3 separate regions of the Homo sapiens genome follow, and all the other regions are linked to region 3. The links are contacts of gene promoters, found by promoter capture Hi-C in blood cells and fetal thymus (Javierre and others, 2016). All regions are on one chromosome and are shown on one strand. Each heading gives the region's core, a stretch centred on a gene start or on the middle of the fragment in contact. The rest is flanking DNA. Distances are from core to core; before and after follow the strand shown.

The links. The method cuts DNA at HindIII sites, captures the fragments that hold promoters and counts their contacts. A CHiCAGO score of 5 or more calls a contact.
Region 1: a fragment that was not itself captured here is called in contact with the fragment with the promoter of HEPACAM in region 3 in 1 of 17 cell types (endothelial precursors); the score reaches 5.1 in endothelial precursors.
Region 2: a fragment that was not itself captured here is called in contact with the fragment with the promoter of HEPACAM in region 3 in 1 of 17 cell types (endothelial precursors); the score reaches 5.6 in endothelial precursors.

Annotation. Positions count from the first base shown.
Region 1 is chr11:125,429,993-125,434,637 of GRCh38, reverse strand. PKNOX2 (PBX/knotted 1 homeobox 2) reads right to left here. Exons shown (of 13, transcript NM_001382323.2): 12 at 4,497-4,645; 13 at 1,249-3,472. The coding sequence ends at 3,246. Among named protein-coding and RNA genes, the nearest start is that of FEZ1, 64 kb to the left of the region's middle. RefSeq lists a silencer at 871-1,165. The HindIII fragment of the contact is 6,745 bases long and covers 1-4,645 here.
Region 2 is chr11:125,399,354-125,404,112 of GRCh38, reverse strand. All of the region lies in intron 7 of PKNOX2 (PBX/knotted 1 homeobox 2), which reads right to left. Among named protein-coding and RNA genes, the nearest start is that of FEZ1, 95 kb to the left of the region's middle. The HindIII fragment of the contact is 4,522 bases long and covers 1-3,717 here.
Region 3 is chr11:124,932,906-124,937,849 of GRCh38, reverse strand. HEPACAM (hepatic and glial cell adhesion molecule) reads left to right here and starts at 1,803. Exons shown (of 7, transcript NM_152722.5): 1 at 1,803-1,928. The coding sequence starts at 1,844. All of the region lies in intron 1 of LOC107984406 (a long non-coding RNA gene), which reads right to left. The HindIII fragment of the contact is 6,598 bases long and covers 1-2,367 here.

The DNA of each region.
Region 1 (4,645 bases), core at 687-3,186, 500 kb before region 3:
AAAAAAAAAAGAAAAGAAAAAAGAAACCCACTTTCAGTTGGCAGCGTGGTTGAAAAGATGGCTGGCAGAACTTGATAGAAAAACTTGGCGGGGAGAGTGTAGGACAGGCTACTCTGCAATTTCTTTAGAATAGTGTTCCCTAAAGTGTGTTTTGTGGAATATTGGTATAACTTGAATAGATATTACTTGAAAAAAAGGGAGGTGGAGCAAATCTCGGAACAATTGAAACAAAGTTCAACAGGTTTCTTTCCTGTAGGACTTTTTAGAGCCTTTAGTATAATAATGTGCATGATGAAACTCTACTAACAAAACAGAATATGCAGTTAATCTTAGGCTAATTTGGGCATGGATTTTTTTTTTTTTTTTTGGTAGCATATCTTTCAACAGTGTGTTCCTTAGAAACCACTGTCTTAAAGGACTGTTGTCTTCCCAGCTCTGGAGGTGAGGTTCCAATCATCGTGCAGTTCTTAAGATTTTCTTCCTCTACCTAGAGAGGCGGGGTTTCTGTAGGGTTTGCAGAACTCTCTCCAGGTGTGAGGAGGGGGAGAGATGTTGGGCTCCCTGAGGGCAGTGATGCAGGGAACTCCACCAGAGCTGGTCAGAGCCCACTTCGCCTGTGTAACCAACCACTGGCTTCCCTATCTTCCACCTGGCCATGGGGTGATCTGCCAGTACGTGCAAACTCTCCAGCATTCCTGAACATGAACAAGGCACTCCCTTCCTGCTTCTAAACAGATGCCCCAGACCTCTCAGCAAGTGTGGCTAAAGAAGGTACCCTCTCGTCTGGAGCTGACAAGAAGGCCTGCCTCTCACTTCTGTGTGGAGATCAGCTGCCTGAGTTTCTTCTTGCCTGGGGGATTATGGTGCTGATCCCTGGGATTCAAGGCCGGGAATGGAGACAGGAAAGCAAAAGCCTTTGAGGGAGGTGGAGTATGGTGGACAAGAGGGACCAGATTCATAGCTTCCGCTGCGGTCGGGGAAGCTGTCAGGAGAGGGCAGTGCAGAGCTTCCTTGCCTTCTCTCCCTAGCTCTGCCTTACAACCGGCCGCACACAAGGTGAGTGTGCTGAAATTGGCTCTTCCTCCCCAGACAGGGCAGCTGAGCTCACGCAGGACGCACATCTACCTTGTCCCCTTCCCTGGGTAGTCAGGTGTATACTGAGGCCTCCAAATTTTGTCTGGCCTCTGGTCCCATGAAAAGAGCAAAGGATTGCCACAGCAACCACAGAAAGAGAATTGTGCACCAGGGTTACGGTAGGTAATAAGATTTACTGAAAACGTCTCGGCCACATTCAGTACTGGTTTGGTGGATACATCAGAAGGAGGTTGCATAACATTAGGCAGGTGGAGGGGCTGAGAGGAAGAGATGTGGGCACCTGTGTGCCAGTGTGTCCGTGCTGGGGGACGCCTGTCCAGGTGGTGAGTGGAACGGTGTGTGTGTGTGTCTGTGTGCGCGTGTTAACAAGAAAAACGAACCAGAAAAGGAAATGCATTTTATCCCACTGCACATTGCAAAAGTCTCACGCCAAAAAAGCTAGACTTTCCTCTATGTATGGCATCAAAAGGGAGTAAAAAATGATTGGATCACCCAGATTATAAATAAGGTTATTTGTTTCTCAAAAATCCTTATTAAAACATTAAATATCAGCTCTTTTGGGGGAGAAATACATTCATTTCAGGGAGACCTCGGAAGAGTGACCATCCTTTTGCTCTACCCCAACCAGGTGGGGGAGGGGAAGCCCCAGAGGGCCCAAGGGGTCCCCTCCAGTTGAGCCAGGTAGCCACTCACATCCTGCCACTGAAGGAGGTGGCCAATGCACAATTTACAAATGAAACTGCACGTCCATTAAATTAAACCCAATGGAAAACACACGTGTGACCTGTCCTGTCATTCACAGCCATGGGGTGAGAGGGAACCGGAGGAGAGGGTGCCAACCAAGGGGGTCTGGAAGGTGGGTGGGAGGGTATGTGTTAGGGTGGACAGTGGAGAGCCTCCTCCTCCTTCCAGGAGCCCCAGTTCCTCCAGGGCTGTGGATAGCAGGGTTAGAACAGCTGGGTGGGGTGTGTGGGATGGGCATCCCCGCAGGCTCTTGGGTGCCATTCTCTGGGCCCTCCCCCACATTTAGGATATTGATGGGAAGAGGGATGTAGCACCTTCTCCAACCCCTGGCTTCCCACTGGACTAGATGCTTTCCAATGTTTCTTCTGCCTTCCCTGAAGGACAGAATGAAGAAAGGAAGCTGGAGGCTGATGGAGCCAGGCTGGGAGCAAAGGGATGGCCGTGGCGACCTGCGGGCTGGAAAGATTCCCAGATAACCTGGTTTCACCTTCTCTGAAGGTCTATGGAGGGCGTGGAGCACTGAAGGTGGGAACATCTAGGGTAAAAAACCATTGTCCTGTTGTTAAAGGAGCTAAGTTCTGTGATCACCTAGGGACAGCTGTGGCCTCAAAGTCACCTCCATATGGTTCCTAGCCCAGGGTCTGCCATCTCCTTGGCTCTTGGAGTCAACCCAGAAGGGACTCCTCTTAACCTCCCACAGGTTGAGCCCACCAGCTTACAGTTGGTTTCCAGGAGAGAGTGAAGGGCACTGTGGCTCCCATCCCTTTCTCCCATGTCCATGGTTGCTGTGCGCAGAGACAGGGCCTTGGAGGGATGAGCTGGAGCCTGGTGGATTCCATCCCATTCTGATCTGCAAGATGTGATGCCTCAGGCCCTCCCACTCCTCTGGCCACTGGTTATGCTTTGGGGCTCCCTCCTGCCCTTGAATGTCTGTCAAAGGAGCTGAGAAACTTCTGGGGATGAAACTCAGTCCCCCTTTGTCTCTCCCCTTCCTTCTAAGTCTGCCCCCGGGCAAAGGCCTACTCTGCGAACAGCACCAATCTGCCTCAGTGCAGGGCTTGTAAACAACTCAAGTCCTTCCGTGGGTGGGGGCCATGGGTGCCATCTATCCTCAGGGATTTGGTGAGTCCAGATCTCACTCCTGTCTTTCCACACAGGCTGCTCGACTGGCCCCGCCAAACAGAGTCCTCGGCAGTTCCAGGGAAGTGGGGCTGGGGTCCTCATTGAAGCTCGGTGGTTGGGAAGGAACAGGTGTCTCCTTTGCCTTTCTTCAAGCTACTGATTTGGGGAAGCTAGGGCCCAACTCCCTCGGTGCTTCCTGCCCATGTCCCCTTCCCCCCCACCCTGAAGGCCTCCCGGCGACACTCCTCTCCTGCTCAGTGATCAGTGCCATCTGGGCTGCCCGACTACTCCAGGGAGTCACTGTGTTCCAAGCCCAGGTCGCTGACATTTGTCGTCTGCAGCTCGTCGACCTCCTCCTCCAGCTCCTCCTCCTCCTCCTCTTCCATCTCATCCTCATCCTCTTCTTCTGTCCCATCCAATGAGTCATCGTGTGCAGCCATCATAGCCTGCTGCATGGCCATGGTGGCACTGTCTGAGGACAGGGACTGCAGGTTGTCCAAGTTGATGGAACCTGCGAGAGAAAGCAAGGGTCAGGACGAGGCAGGGGCTGCTGGTCAGGGCCAGCACCTCTGTGTTGGACAGGGTTTAATGGACTGGCTCATAGAGCAGTGAACTCCTTGTTTTTAGAGCTGTCCAAGCCTGAGCTGGACAATGCCCTGGTATGAAGTCTCCCATCCATTCACTAGTCAGCTACTCCCTGCCCCATCTCAGGAAGCAGCACTCCCAGCCACCGTTCACTGCACATTTTCTTTATGTGTTGGCCACTTTTGACTTTCTAACAATTCTGTAAGGCAGGTATTATTATCCCCATTCTGTCTCAGACAGTTAAGTCATTAGCTCAAGATGACATTGTCAGCGATGACAGAGTTGGAATTTTCTCCCAGGCTGGTCCAGCCCCCTAAATCTGTTTTTTTTTTTCCCATCATAACCCATAAGATGGCTCATCACAAAGGAACCTGTGCACAACCATACACATACACGTGTGCATGAGGTTATGTGTGCACACACGCACACCTACGCTCCACTCCCCATACAGAGCTATCTTCATATGCCAAGCTATAAAATGCTTGGCTCATTGAATTATTCATTGTGCACTAGGCGACTGGCAATTAGAAAAGTGTATATGGAGGGTGTGATGGAGAGGCTGGGAAAACAGAGCTCTTCCTGGCCCCTGTTCACGAGCCAGCTGCCTGCCTTGATATTTATAGATGGCCTTGGCTCCTGAAGAGCTGTGCAGATACTTACTGGTGCTAAGGAACTCAGATGGGTGCGGACATGGGGGGCTCTGCTGAGCAGTCACTGACTTGCGTGACCACCAACTCCCGCTTTTCTTTATGAGAGTGCATCTGGTCTGTTAAATTATGTACAAAAACATCCCCTTCTTTAGGGCTTTGGGGAGGGATAATCACTGTGGCATGGCAGCGATGGGAGCCCAGGTAAGGAGATAGCCCTTGAATCTTTGCACGGCTTGACCTGAAGAAGCTCCAGGAGCACCCCCAGCCCTTGTCTAGGGTGCACTCAGCCCCAGTTCTTACCATCGGGGTTTGTCCCTGGGGCACCGCCCTGCTGCTGCAGCACCCCCGCAGCGATGGAGTTGGGCCAGAATCTTTGGGTGGGCCGGTGCTGAGACTTGATCTTCTTGGCTTTGGGGGCAGGATCTGGGTTGCTGGCATCAAGCATGGGC
Region 2 (4,759 bases), core at 207-2,706, 470 kb before region 3:
GCCCCATCCAGTCTTCTCCCTGGTCCTGTCCTCAGGATGCTTAGCCACTGGGCAGAACCTCTAGGGTCCTGGCTGAGGTGATGGCCCCCTACCCCTTCCGCCCCCTGCCAATCTGGAAAATCCAAAATTCCTTAGAGGTCAATAGGCAAGTGCCACCCTTCTCAGGTGGGGATGCATTGATTAGCCCCCTTCCTATTCTGCTGGGGAGGCGCAGAGCTGCAGAGTCGCATCTGGCAGCTGGGCCTAGCATCTCAGAATGTCCTCAACTTTGTACCTCTCATTTCCCTACTTCCAGTCTACTAGCAAATCCAAATTCTTGCTTCGTAGCAATTGGCTTCTTCCTCTGTAGTCCCTACCCCACTGACCAATAGCTAGGTAGGGTCATCACTCTCCACCCAGGTCCCAGGACCCCTGATTCTTCTCCCCATGTGTCACAAAAACATATCCCCATGTAGCAAGAAGAACATGGGCTCTGGAGTAGCCCATCCCGGACTCCAGCACTTGCTAGGTGTGTGACTTTGAGCCAGGGTCTTCACTTCTCTCAGCTTCTCTTTTCTTGGATGTAAAATGGAGAAAATCATGTGTACCTTGCAGCCTGTCATGAAGAGTAAATTAGATAATCTGTGGAAAGCACCTAGTACACACCATGTTTGAGACAGAGGGGAGCTCAATAAATGTTCACCGTCTCCCCTCCTTCTGCCAGCTCTTCTTGGACCAATACAAGATGTGGCTGCTCAATTGATTTGTCTCCAGCGTGTCTCCAGCCCTGACCCTGTTGCCTACATTCTCCACTACCTTTAAAGTCTTTAGCAGTCGGCCACCACTATTAGCCCCAAAACAGAACTCCCACACATTTGGCTTCAAGGTACTCCATCATTACACTTGGAGACCTGGGACTGTGTCGCATCCATTTTTTATATCCCCAGAACTCAGTAGGCTCCAGAGGTGCCTGAATGGATGCAGGATGCGTGAATGAATGAGCCCCCTTCACCCCATCTCCTCTCTAGGGATTCTGATTGGCTCTCTCTGTTTCTCGCCTTCTTTCAGACTTCTTGCTACATTGGAAACACTCACCTTTATAAAGGTTGCCAAATAGGCTACCAACTCTCACCAAGCCTGCCTGAAATGCCACCTCCCAGAGGAAGCCCTCCCAAGGCCAATGAATCTGTAACTTCTCCAATCACAATGGGCAAAATCCTCCTGTTGTCCTCTCCACTCTGTACTGAGGTTTGTTTATCCTATTGTGGAGCAGGAACAAACTGGCCATGAAGGTGTGAGGGCTGGGTCTGGGACTTGGTCCCCCTCTGAGGAAGGATGAAGGATGCTGAGTTGAGACTGGGGCAACCTCAAGCCACACATGTGGATCACCCAATCCAGAATCCCTGCCTGCAGCTCCTCTCCCCATCTCTTTGGCTGCTCCTTTCCTCTGTACTCTTGACCCTGAGCATTTCACGGCTGACATGATTTATCTAGATCCTCATTGTGACTCATGGCTCTCTCTCCCTGAGACTGGGAGCTCCTCTTGGACAATGGCTTGTGTCTGTTCTCACAGGACCTAGCACAGAACATACAGTGAGTGCCCCCCAAACGCTTGGCAATTGAATGAGAACCATGATTCAATCCAATTTGCCTGGAATAGAGCTGAGGCTTAAATCTCCACAGAGAAAAAAGGATGAATTTCAGGTCAAACTAATACTTGAGTGAGGTGTCTCTCTAGTGGAATGGTTCCATTTGCGCCCTCTAGGAAGGACAGGAGAACCCAGAGTAGGGTCTAGAACCAGTCTCCTTACAGAGGATCCTGCCCCCACAAGAAGCCTGGGCTCTGAGGAGTAGGAAGCCTGGGTGTCATTGGGTGCCTGCAGCACAGGATGGGTTCCTAGGGAGGGGGAAAATCTAGCTGTGGCCCAGGTCTTTGAAAGTCTGCTTTAGTCCCCTGCTTGGTAGAACAGTCTCCCTTACTTCCCATCTCCACTTTGCCCAGCAGAGAAGACTCACACAGAGAAATCGAAGGCCGAGCAGGAAAACGCTCAACCCATCGATCTGGATGGAGGACACGGCATAGCATCTGGGAGTGGGGATACCAAGTTGAAAACAAAAATGTCTCCCGCTTTGCAACACAAGGCTGGATGATTAGCACACAGGGAAAACCATGAGCCAGCAGTTTGCAACAAAGCTGGCAGGCGGCTGGAATGTTGATCCAGAGGATCATGTTCCAGAGGGGAGACACCCCTCCCCAGGCCAGGCTGGTGCTCAGGCTATTTCAGGCCGGGGGGATTAAGGGTGAACCATGACGAATGCATGTGCCCGCGTGTGCACACACATACACACACACACACACACACACACTCACAAGCTCCTTTTCTCTCTCTCATACAGGCTCCTGTGTCTTGAACCCAAGACCTGCCTCCTGCACTGAAAGTCTCGGTCCCCGATTCTTAGCAGCCCTGGGCCTCTCCTTCCTGGGAGAGCCCATGCAAGCCCGGCCCCTACCTTAGTGCAATAATGACAGGGGCCTGTCCTGGGAAGGCTTAAGAGACGTGTGAGTGTGCAAGTGGGCCGAGGGATGGCCAGAGAAGGCAGGAGAGCAGGTTAGGAAGCTCCTGCCATAGCCTATGTGTAATTACCGTATTTACCCCTGAAGCCTGAGCAAAGCAGGCAGTGGCAGTCAGAGAAAATGCAGGGGCAAGTTTGAGTAATACAACAGGAGCAGCACATAGCACATCCTCCTGACTTTCCCGCCTCCTCGTACCCTGGCTGCGCACTGAGCCACATGCATTGTCCTTTCACTTGCTGTCACTCTTGCTGCCGTTCCTCTCTCCGTCTGTCCTTCTGCCCCGTCGTTCTCAGTATCGTCTCCCTTTTCCTGGGTTTGTGTGCCTCCCTGTCTCTCTCTCTTGCTCTTTTCCTCCAATTCTTCAGCCTGTCTCTGCTTCCCTCCTGAATGTTGACCCTGCATATTTGGCTTTCTTTCCCTTTATTTTTCTTCCTATTTCTCCTTTCCTCCTTTGGCTTCCCCTTGCCCCTGCCCCCCACCCAACTTTCTTTCTCTCATTCCATTATTTCTTTCAATAAATACTTCCCGGCCATCTTTCTTGCACAAGACCTTGTGGTAGCCACTGCTGGGGTCACAGGGAGAGTACACTAGGACTCTGAAGGGATGAGTCTATTTCAAGAGACTATCAGCAGGCAGAGGCTGGAAATGGCTGTTTTTGGCCTATAATAAGGTGATTTGGTGATTTCAAACATGTAAAATACTGTCTCTGCTCAAAAAGTGTTATCTAGGATAGGAAAATGAGATGAACACAGGGATCTATAATATAAAGTCACAGTGACTTTTGCCATATCGATGGCTCAGCAAGCTCCACCAGTTAGTGGAGTGCAGGAAGCGTCCATTCTGGATGGGGCATCAGGGAGTCCTCCTGGGTGAGCAGCCTTGTTCCTACCCTTGGGGAAGAAGCTGGGTTTGGTTGTGCAGAGATGATGGGGTTGTGGGGGAGGTGTCACCCGAACAGACAGGCATGGAGTGATGGTTACAGCACCTTGAACAGTCAGATTGGCCCACCCAGGAAGGCTGAAGCCAGACCTAGGAGGGCCTTGAATGTCAGGTGGGCAGATGTGAAAGCCCTCCCTTCCACCCCCAGGGGCATGGCAAGCAGGGTTTCTGAGCAGGCGAATGACATGAACAAAGTTAGAAAGATGAATCCAGCAGCAGAAGCTTAAGAGATGCATGGGTGTGCAGGTGGGCTGAGGGATGGCCAGGAGAGCAGGTTAGGAAGCTCCTGTCATAGCCTATGTGTAATCACCGTATTTACCCCCGAAGCCAGAACAAAGCAGGTGGTGGCAGTCAGAGAAAATGCAGGGACAAGTTTGAGTAATACCAAGTAGGAATACCTCACTAGTGTCTTTTCTCTTTCTCAGTGCCTCGCTTGCATCACCCCCTCCCCCACACCCACCACGCAATTGTCTGATTCCTCTTTCCCAGCTGATCAATGGCCTTTCTGCCGTGGGTACCCCAGGGCCAGCCTCACTTCCAGGCAGAGATCTGATGCTTCCAGTGATAGGAATCAAAATTCTTCTGTCTTTCCTCAAAGCTCAGAAGGCTGAGTGCCGGGATTCTCCAGGGGGACTGATTTTTGCAGGTGGCAGCATCTCTGAGAACTTAACCATCCAGAGTCCGCGTTATCCTTTTCTGCAAACCCCACTTCTCCAGTGACCGACTGGTTTCTGCAGACCAACTTGTCAGTCTCAGACCTCCAACCCTGAGGGGGCTGAGGTGGCTGCTAAGCCCTCTGCCCCTCCTTCCTTCCCCCACTACCCTGGTGCACCCCCAGCTCCAGAGCTCGAGGTGGAGTTGGAGGGCCCAGGAGGGGAAATCCAGTGCCTCTCCAAGGACCTGATTATTTCCAAAGACTTGTGCTAATTTTCTGATATGATCCTCACATCTCTGTGAGGCACTAAATCCTCATTACTTTTCCTGACCGATGCATTCTAATTAGATCAACACTTAAAAAAAATTCACAATAGCCACAGGATGGCTTTCCATCTCATTAACTCCTCACTTATTATTTTCATGAAAATTACTGATAAAAATGTGCATCTCCATTTGGCGAGGCCTCACAGCCTCCTCAGCTCCTATCTTGCATCTCTCCCATCACCGGGACTGCGCAGCGTCACCATGGTAACCCACAATAATAGAAACTAATAAATTACAAACGAGATGCTCGTTGAGCAATTATTGTCCTCTTTTATGCAAGTTTCT
Region 3 (4,944 bases), core at 554-3,053:
AAAGAGCCACCTCTGGGGCGGGGAAGTGGGGATATTGAGAACTTAGATCCTTTTAGTCTCCCTCTAGCACATTTTTCTTTCCACAGTGCTTCAGGATAACAAGGGCAGACTTCGGGCTTTCTATTTCCCAAACACTGCATCCTCCTTTTACTCCCATCCATAAGCCTCAAGGCCCAGCCATCACAGGCAAAGAGGCCATTTATCTACACTCCAGAAGGACTCTGTGATCCAGTCCACAGGCTGATCTATGATATGTCAAGGGGTAGATAAAAGAAATTAGAATGCTCTTTTGTCCCTTACAAAGACTGGCTAAGCCTTTCATCTTGCTATGGACTTTGAAATGCTATTTTAAATGTCAGAAGCTGAATATTGACTCTTTTTGTGTACCTGCTATAATAACATTACCTCTTCCAGTGGAAGAAAGGTGCCTTGAGTTGTCTAGGGAAAAGTCATAAACACAGAAATGCAAAAGGAAAAAAGAATCCCCTTTATATATTTCAGAATGTTTTCAGAGAGGTCTGTGAAGTTCAGTGCTTCCCAACTCTTCTCCCTCTGCCGAGGCTCAGAAGGGCTATGTAATAATGCTTCAGTTCTAGAAAGTTGACCTACTCAGGCTTTCTCCAGTATGTAAAAAGAATATTTAGAGAGATAATTGCTGCACTTACAAAACCAAGACCAGGGGTTAGGGATGACCAAGAAGGAAGTTGTGAAGTTTGGTCTCCCAAAAATATAAAGATCCCAGCATGAATGAAAAAAGAAACAAGGCAATTTTTAAAAAGTTTAAAACATCATCTCTGTAACAAAGGATTTGCTAGGTACTCTTCTGTACCAAATCTCCATCAACGCTCCCAACAATTCCCCTCAAGGAAGCTCTTCTTTTCCCCATTTTACAGATGAGAAATTGAAGGCTCAAAGAGGTTGCGAGCCCATCCCAAGATCACAGTTACTAGGCATCCATTCCCTTGGCCGCCCTCATGAAAAGGTGTGAACACATGAATGGGGGTCAGAGTAGAGCTAGAGTGTTTCTCCTCTTCACAGCCTCAAAACAGGAGGGCACAGCTAGGCTGTTAAGCTGGTAACAGAACCCTAGGATGCTGGCTGTTAGGAGATGACCTTCATTTTGCTCAGACATGTTCTAGAAAATTGCCTGAAAGCAGGGGAATGAACAGAGTGGCTTCTGGAAAGAGGTGTCCAGCATCTATGTGATTCTATGATAGAAGAGAAAATTCCAAGCCACGGAAAGACAAGTGTAACAATAATAGAATTCAAGCTGTTTTCCAGTCTTCTTCCTTTGGGATGGAACAGGGGTTTTCCATTTCTTCAGCAGTTGTCTGGAGTCTTTCACTTCCCAGCTTTTTAAAATCTCTTCTCCCTCCCTTTTCAGAGCTTATTGGAGGTCTGTCCTGGCATGTACCCTCCTCCTCAGGGAGAAGGAGTGTTAGGTGGAGACAGGGTAGGTTGGGACACAAAGTCCAGTTAAGTGTGTGTCCCAGCTCAGTGCTCTGAGCCCAGATCCTCATCTCCCTGGGTAGTGAGGCTCAGCACAGACAAGCAACCAACTGCTGGGCTGCCGGTGCCCCCCATGTTGGAACCTGAGTTGGAGATTATCTCCTAAGCAGATACCTGCTTCCAAACTGGGGATGTAGGGCTTGGAAACTAGAAAATGCCAGGTCTGAGGGAGAGGAAAGAACAAGTCCAGCAATACACAGAGCTCTGTGTATTCAGAGGGAAGTTGGCAGGGTTGTGTTCGGGCAGAGAAACTCCGAGTGGTACAAAGGGGACGTGCCCAGAGTGGAGAAATCATGCTAATTGTCTGCACTAGAGCTGGAGAACGCCACCCAAAATGAAGAGAGAAAGGGGAGCCCTGTCCAGAGCCTCCAGGGCCCTGCGCCTTGCTCCTTTTGTCTACCTTCTTCTGATCCAGACAGGTAGGAGGCCAGAGGGTAAGAAAGGGTCTGAAGAAAGGACCCGGGGCTTTTACAGCAGACGGAGGGGAGAGTGGAGGGCCTGAATGCCTTTGGGGCAGGAGTGGGGGAGAGTTCAGCTGCCGTGGGAAACATGTCAGGGAATTCAGGCATTAGCGTTGAACGTATTTCTTTATTTTGTGTGCCTCCCGCGCGGCCCCTACCCCCTTCCCCCAAAAGGCTGCATGACTTTGGAGCTCCCACGGCATTCAGTACATTAGATGGCGGGCACTGGGCCATTTCGTATGGGATGACTTGTTGGCGTGGGCCAGTCTGGCATTCTTTCCAAGGGATTGTGGTGGGGCTTGATGGGTAGGGGTAGGGGAAATTTTCTTTTTATACCTCCCCAGCCCCCGACTCTGGCTTCTCTGTGTGTAAAAGAGTAAGGCAGATGAAAGAAGCTTTGGAGATAATGAGCCTCCTAATGTGGGATAGTCATACCCACCTATCCATAATTCACTCCACTCCATAGCTGCTTACCTCCTCTACCGCCCCCTACCAATCCTTTGAGAAGTGATCTTATTTAAATATACCTATTTATGAGTACATACACATATACACACACACACACACACACAATTACAGAGCACCTAGGAATTCACAACTTAGTGAGGCAAACAGATGTGGAGATCATTTTACTAAACTGCAGGAACTATCATAAGTCAATTATGCAGAGAATGCATAGCAATCAGAGAAAGGTCACCTACCCCATCCAGGAAGCTGGTGCTGGTGGAGGGGGTGTTGGTAGGGTAGGACACAGGGTGTGGGAATATCAGGGGGAGGTTTTCTGGTAGAAGGAATGTGTGCACTGAATTTTAAAAGATGGGGAAAAAAGGTAGGAGTATAAGTGGGTGTTAGGGTTGGGAAATGAGCAAAGGTCAACAGCTTGAAATAACATCAAGTGTTTAGTCAGAGCCCAGCAGTTCATCACTGCTGGAGAGAAAAGCATGAATTGAGTGAGGCAAGAGCTTTGTAAACCAGACTCGTAATCTGGGGATTGAGAGGTGAGGGAATGAGCGGTTTTTAATTTGGGGACTGTCAGGGTTACATGTACCTTTCAGATAGCTTACTCAGTCTGCAGGGGGTCATTCGAGGGGAAACTGGAGGCAAATAAAATAAGAAAGGAAGTTTGTATTCATTTTCTAGGGCTCCTATAACAAAATACCACAAACTGAGTGGCTTAAACAACAGAAATGCATTATCTCAAAGTCGTGGAAGCCAGAAGTGGGAGATCGAGGTGTCAGCAGGGCCATGCTCTCTCTGAAGCTTCTAGGGAGGGCTCTGCCTTAGGGTTCTCTCCTAGCTTCTGGTAATTCCTTGACTTGTGGCAGCATCACTCCAGTCTTGGTATGGCATTCCCCGTGTTTGCATGTCTATGTCCACATTTCCCCTTTTTATAAGGACACATACTAGATTAGGTCCATCCTACTCCAGTATGATCCCTTCTTATTAGATCTGCAGTGACCCCATTGCCAAATAAGTTCACATTCTGAGGTACTTGGGGGTTAGGACTCCAACGTATGAATTTGAGGGGAACACAGGTCAAAAAGCTATTGCAATAGATCAAGAGAGAAATAGGAGAAATAACATGGACTGAAATTATAATAAAGATAGAAGGAATGAGGCATGTTGAGAAAATATTTTAGAGGTAAAGTCAGGAGCTAGTGACCTGTAGGAAGTAGGAGGATTTAGGAAGGGAAGGAGGATTGCTGTGTGAAACCTTAAACAAAAAAAATGAGTATCATACATGTTTAGATTGAAATACTTATGAGGCTTCCGTGTGAAGATGTCACATAGCCTGGAGTTGGGTGGCAGAGAGGTCAGGGTTGGAGAGAGGTATTTGGCAGCCGTTAGCCCATAGGTGAGAGTTAAAACAATAAGAATAGATAATATTACTTAGGAAGGGAAAAACGTGGGATGAAAATGAAACATCATGTAACCTCAAGATTTGTAGAGGAAGCAGAGGAAGAAATGCCCATTAAGGAGACAAAGAGAGAACAGCCAGAGAGACAGAAGGACTAGAAGCCTGTGGTGCTGTCCAGAAAATCAAGGGAGTTGAGAGTTTTCAGGAGTAGATCAATACCATTGAAGTTGTCAAAGAGATCCAATGTGACAAAGACCCAAAAGAGCCCATTGGATAAGGCAATTAAGAGGTTACTGTTGGCTTTGGTGAAATGACAATGAGCTGAAGAAATAATGAGAGCTGAAGGTATGGAGACAGTGAGTTGAGAATAGGAACGACACAAATATACAAAGCAGAGATGGCCCTAAACTCTTTCCGGTCATCAAATGGTAAGGAAAAAAATTATAGAAAGATCACGTCGGTCAGTAAGACTGGGACAAAACAAAAGGTGATCAAGGATATTCTATGTGGAAAAATGTAACTTAGTAAATACACCAAAACATTCTAAATGTGGCCGGGAGCGGTGGCTCATGCTTGTAATCTCAGAACTTTGGGAGGCCTAGGCAGTTGGATTGCTTGAGCCCAGGAGTTCGAGACCAGCCTGAGGAACATGGCGAAACCCCATCTCTACAAAAATGAAAAAATTAGCCAGACCTAGTGGTGCACGCTTGTAATTCCAGCTACTCAGGAGGCTGAGGTGGGAGGATTGCTTGAACCAGGGAGGTCAAGGCTGCAGTGAGCCATGATCACGTCACTGCACTTCAGCCTGGGTAACACCAAGAACCTTTCTCAAAAAAAAAAATTATAATGTAAGTTATGCTAATAGGATATTAGTTAATGACCTATGATAGATAAGAGGTAAGTGCTGGGAGAGGCCATTGTACTGCTGTGGACTAAAGAGTAATAAGAGCTGAGATTCTAGAAGGAATCCCTGCCATCCCTAATATATTATTTAGGAAAATGTTTGCTTCTGGGACCAATAAATTCCAAAATTTAAGTTCCTGGCAGTAACTATGTGATAGCCCATTGTAGTTTCAGACTAGGCCTGGGAAGAGGAAGGACTCTACTCTATGAAGT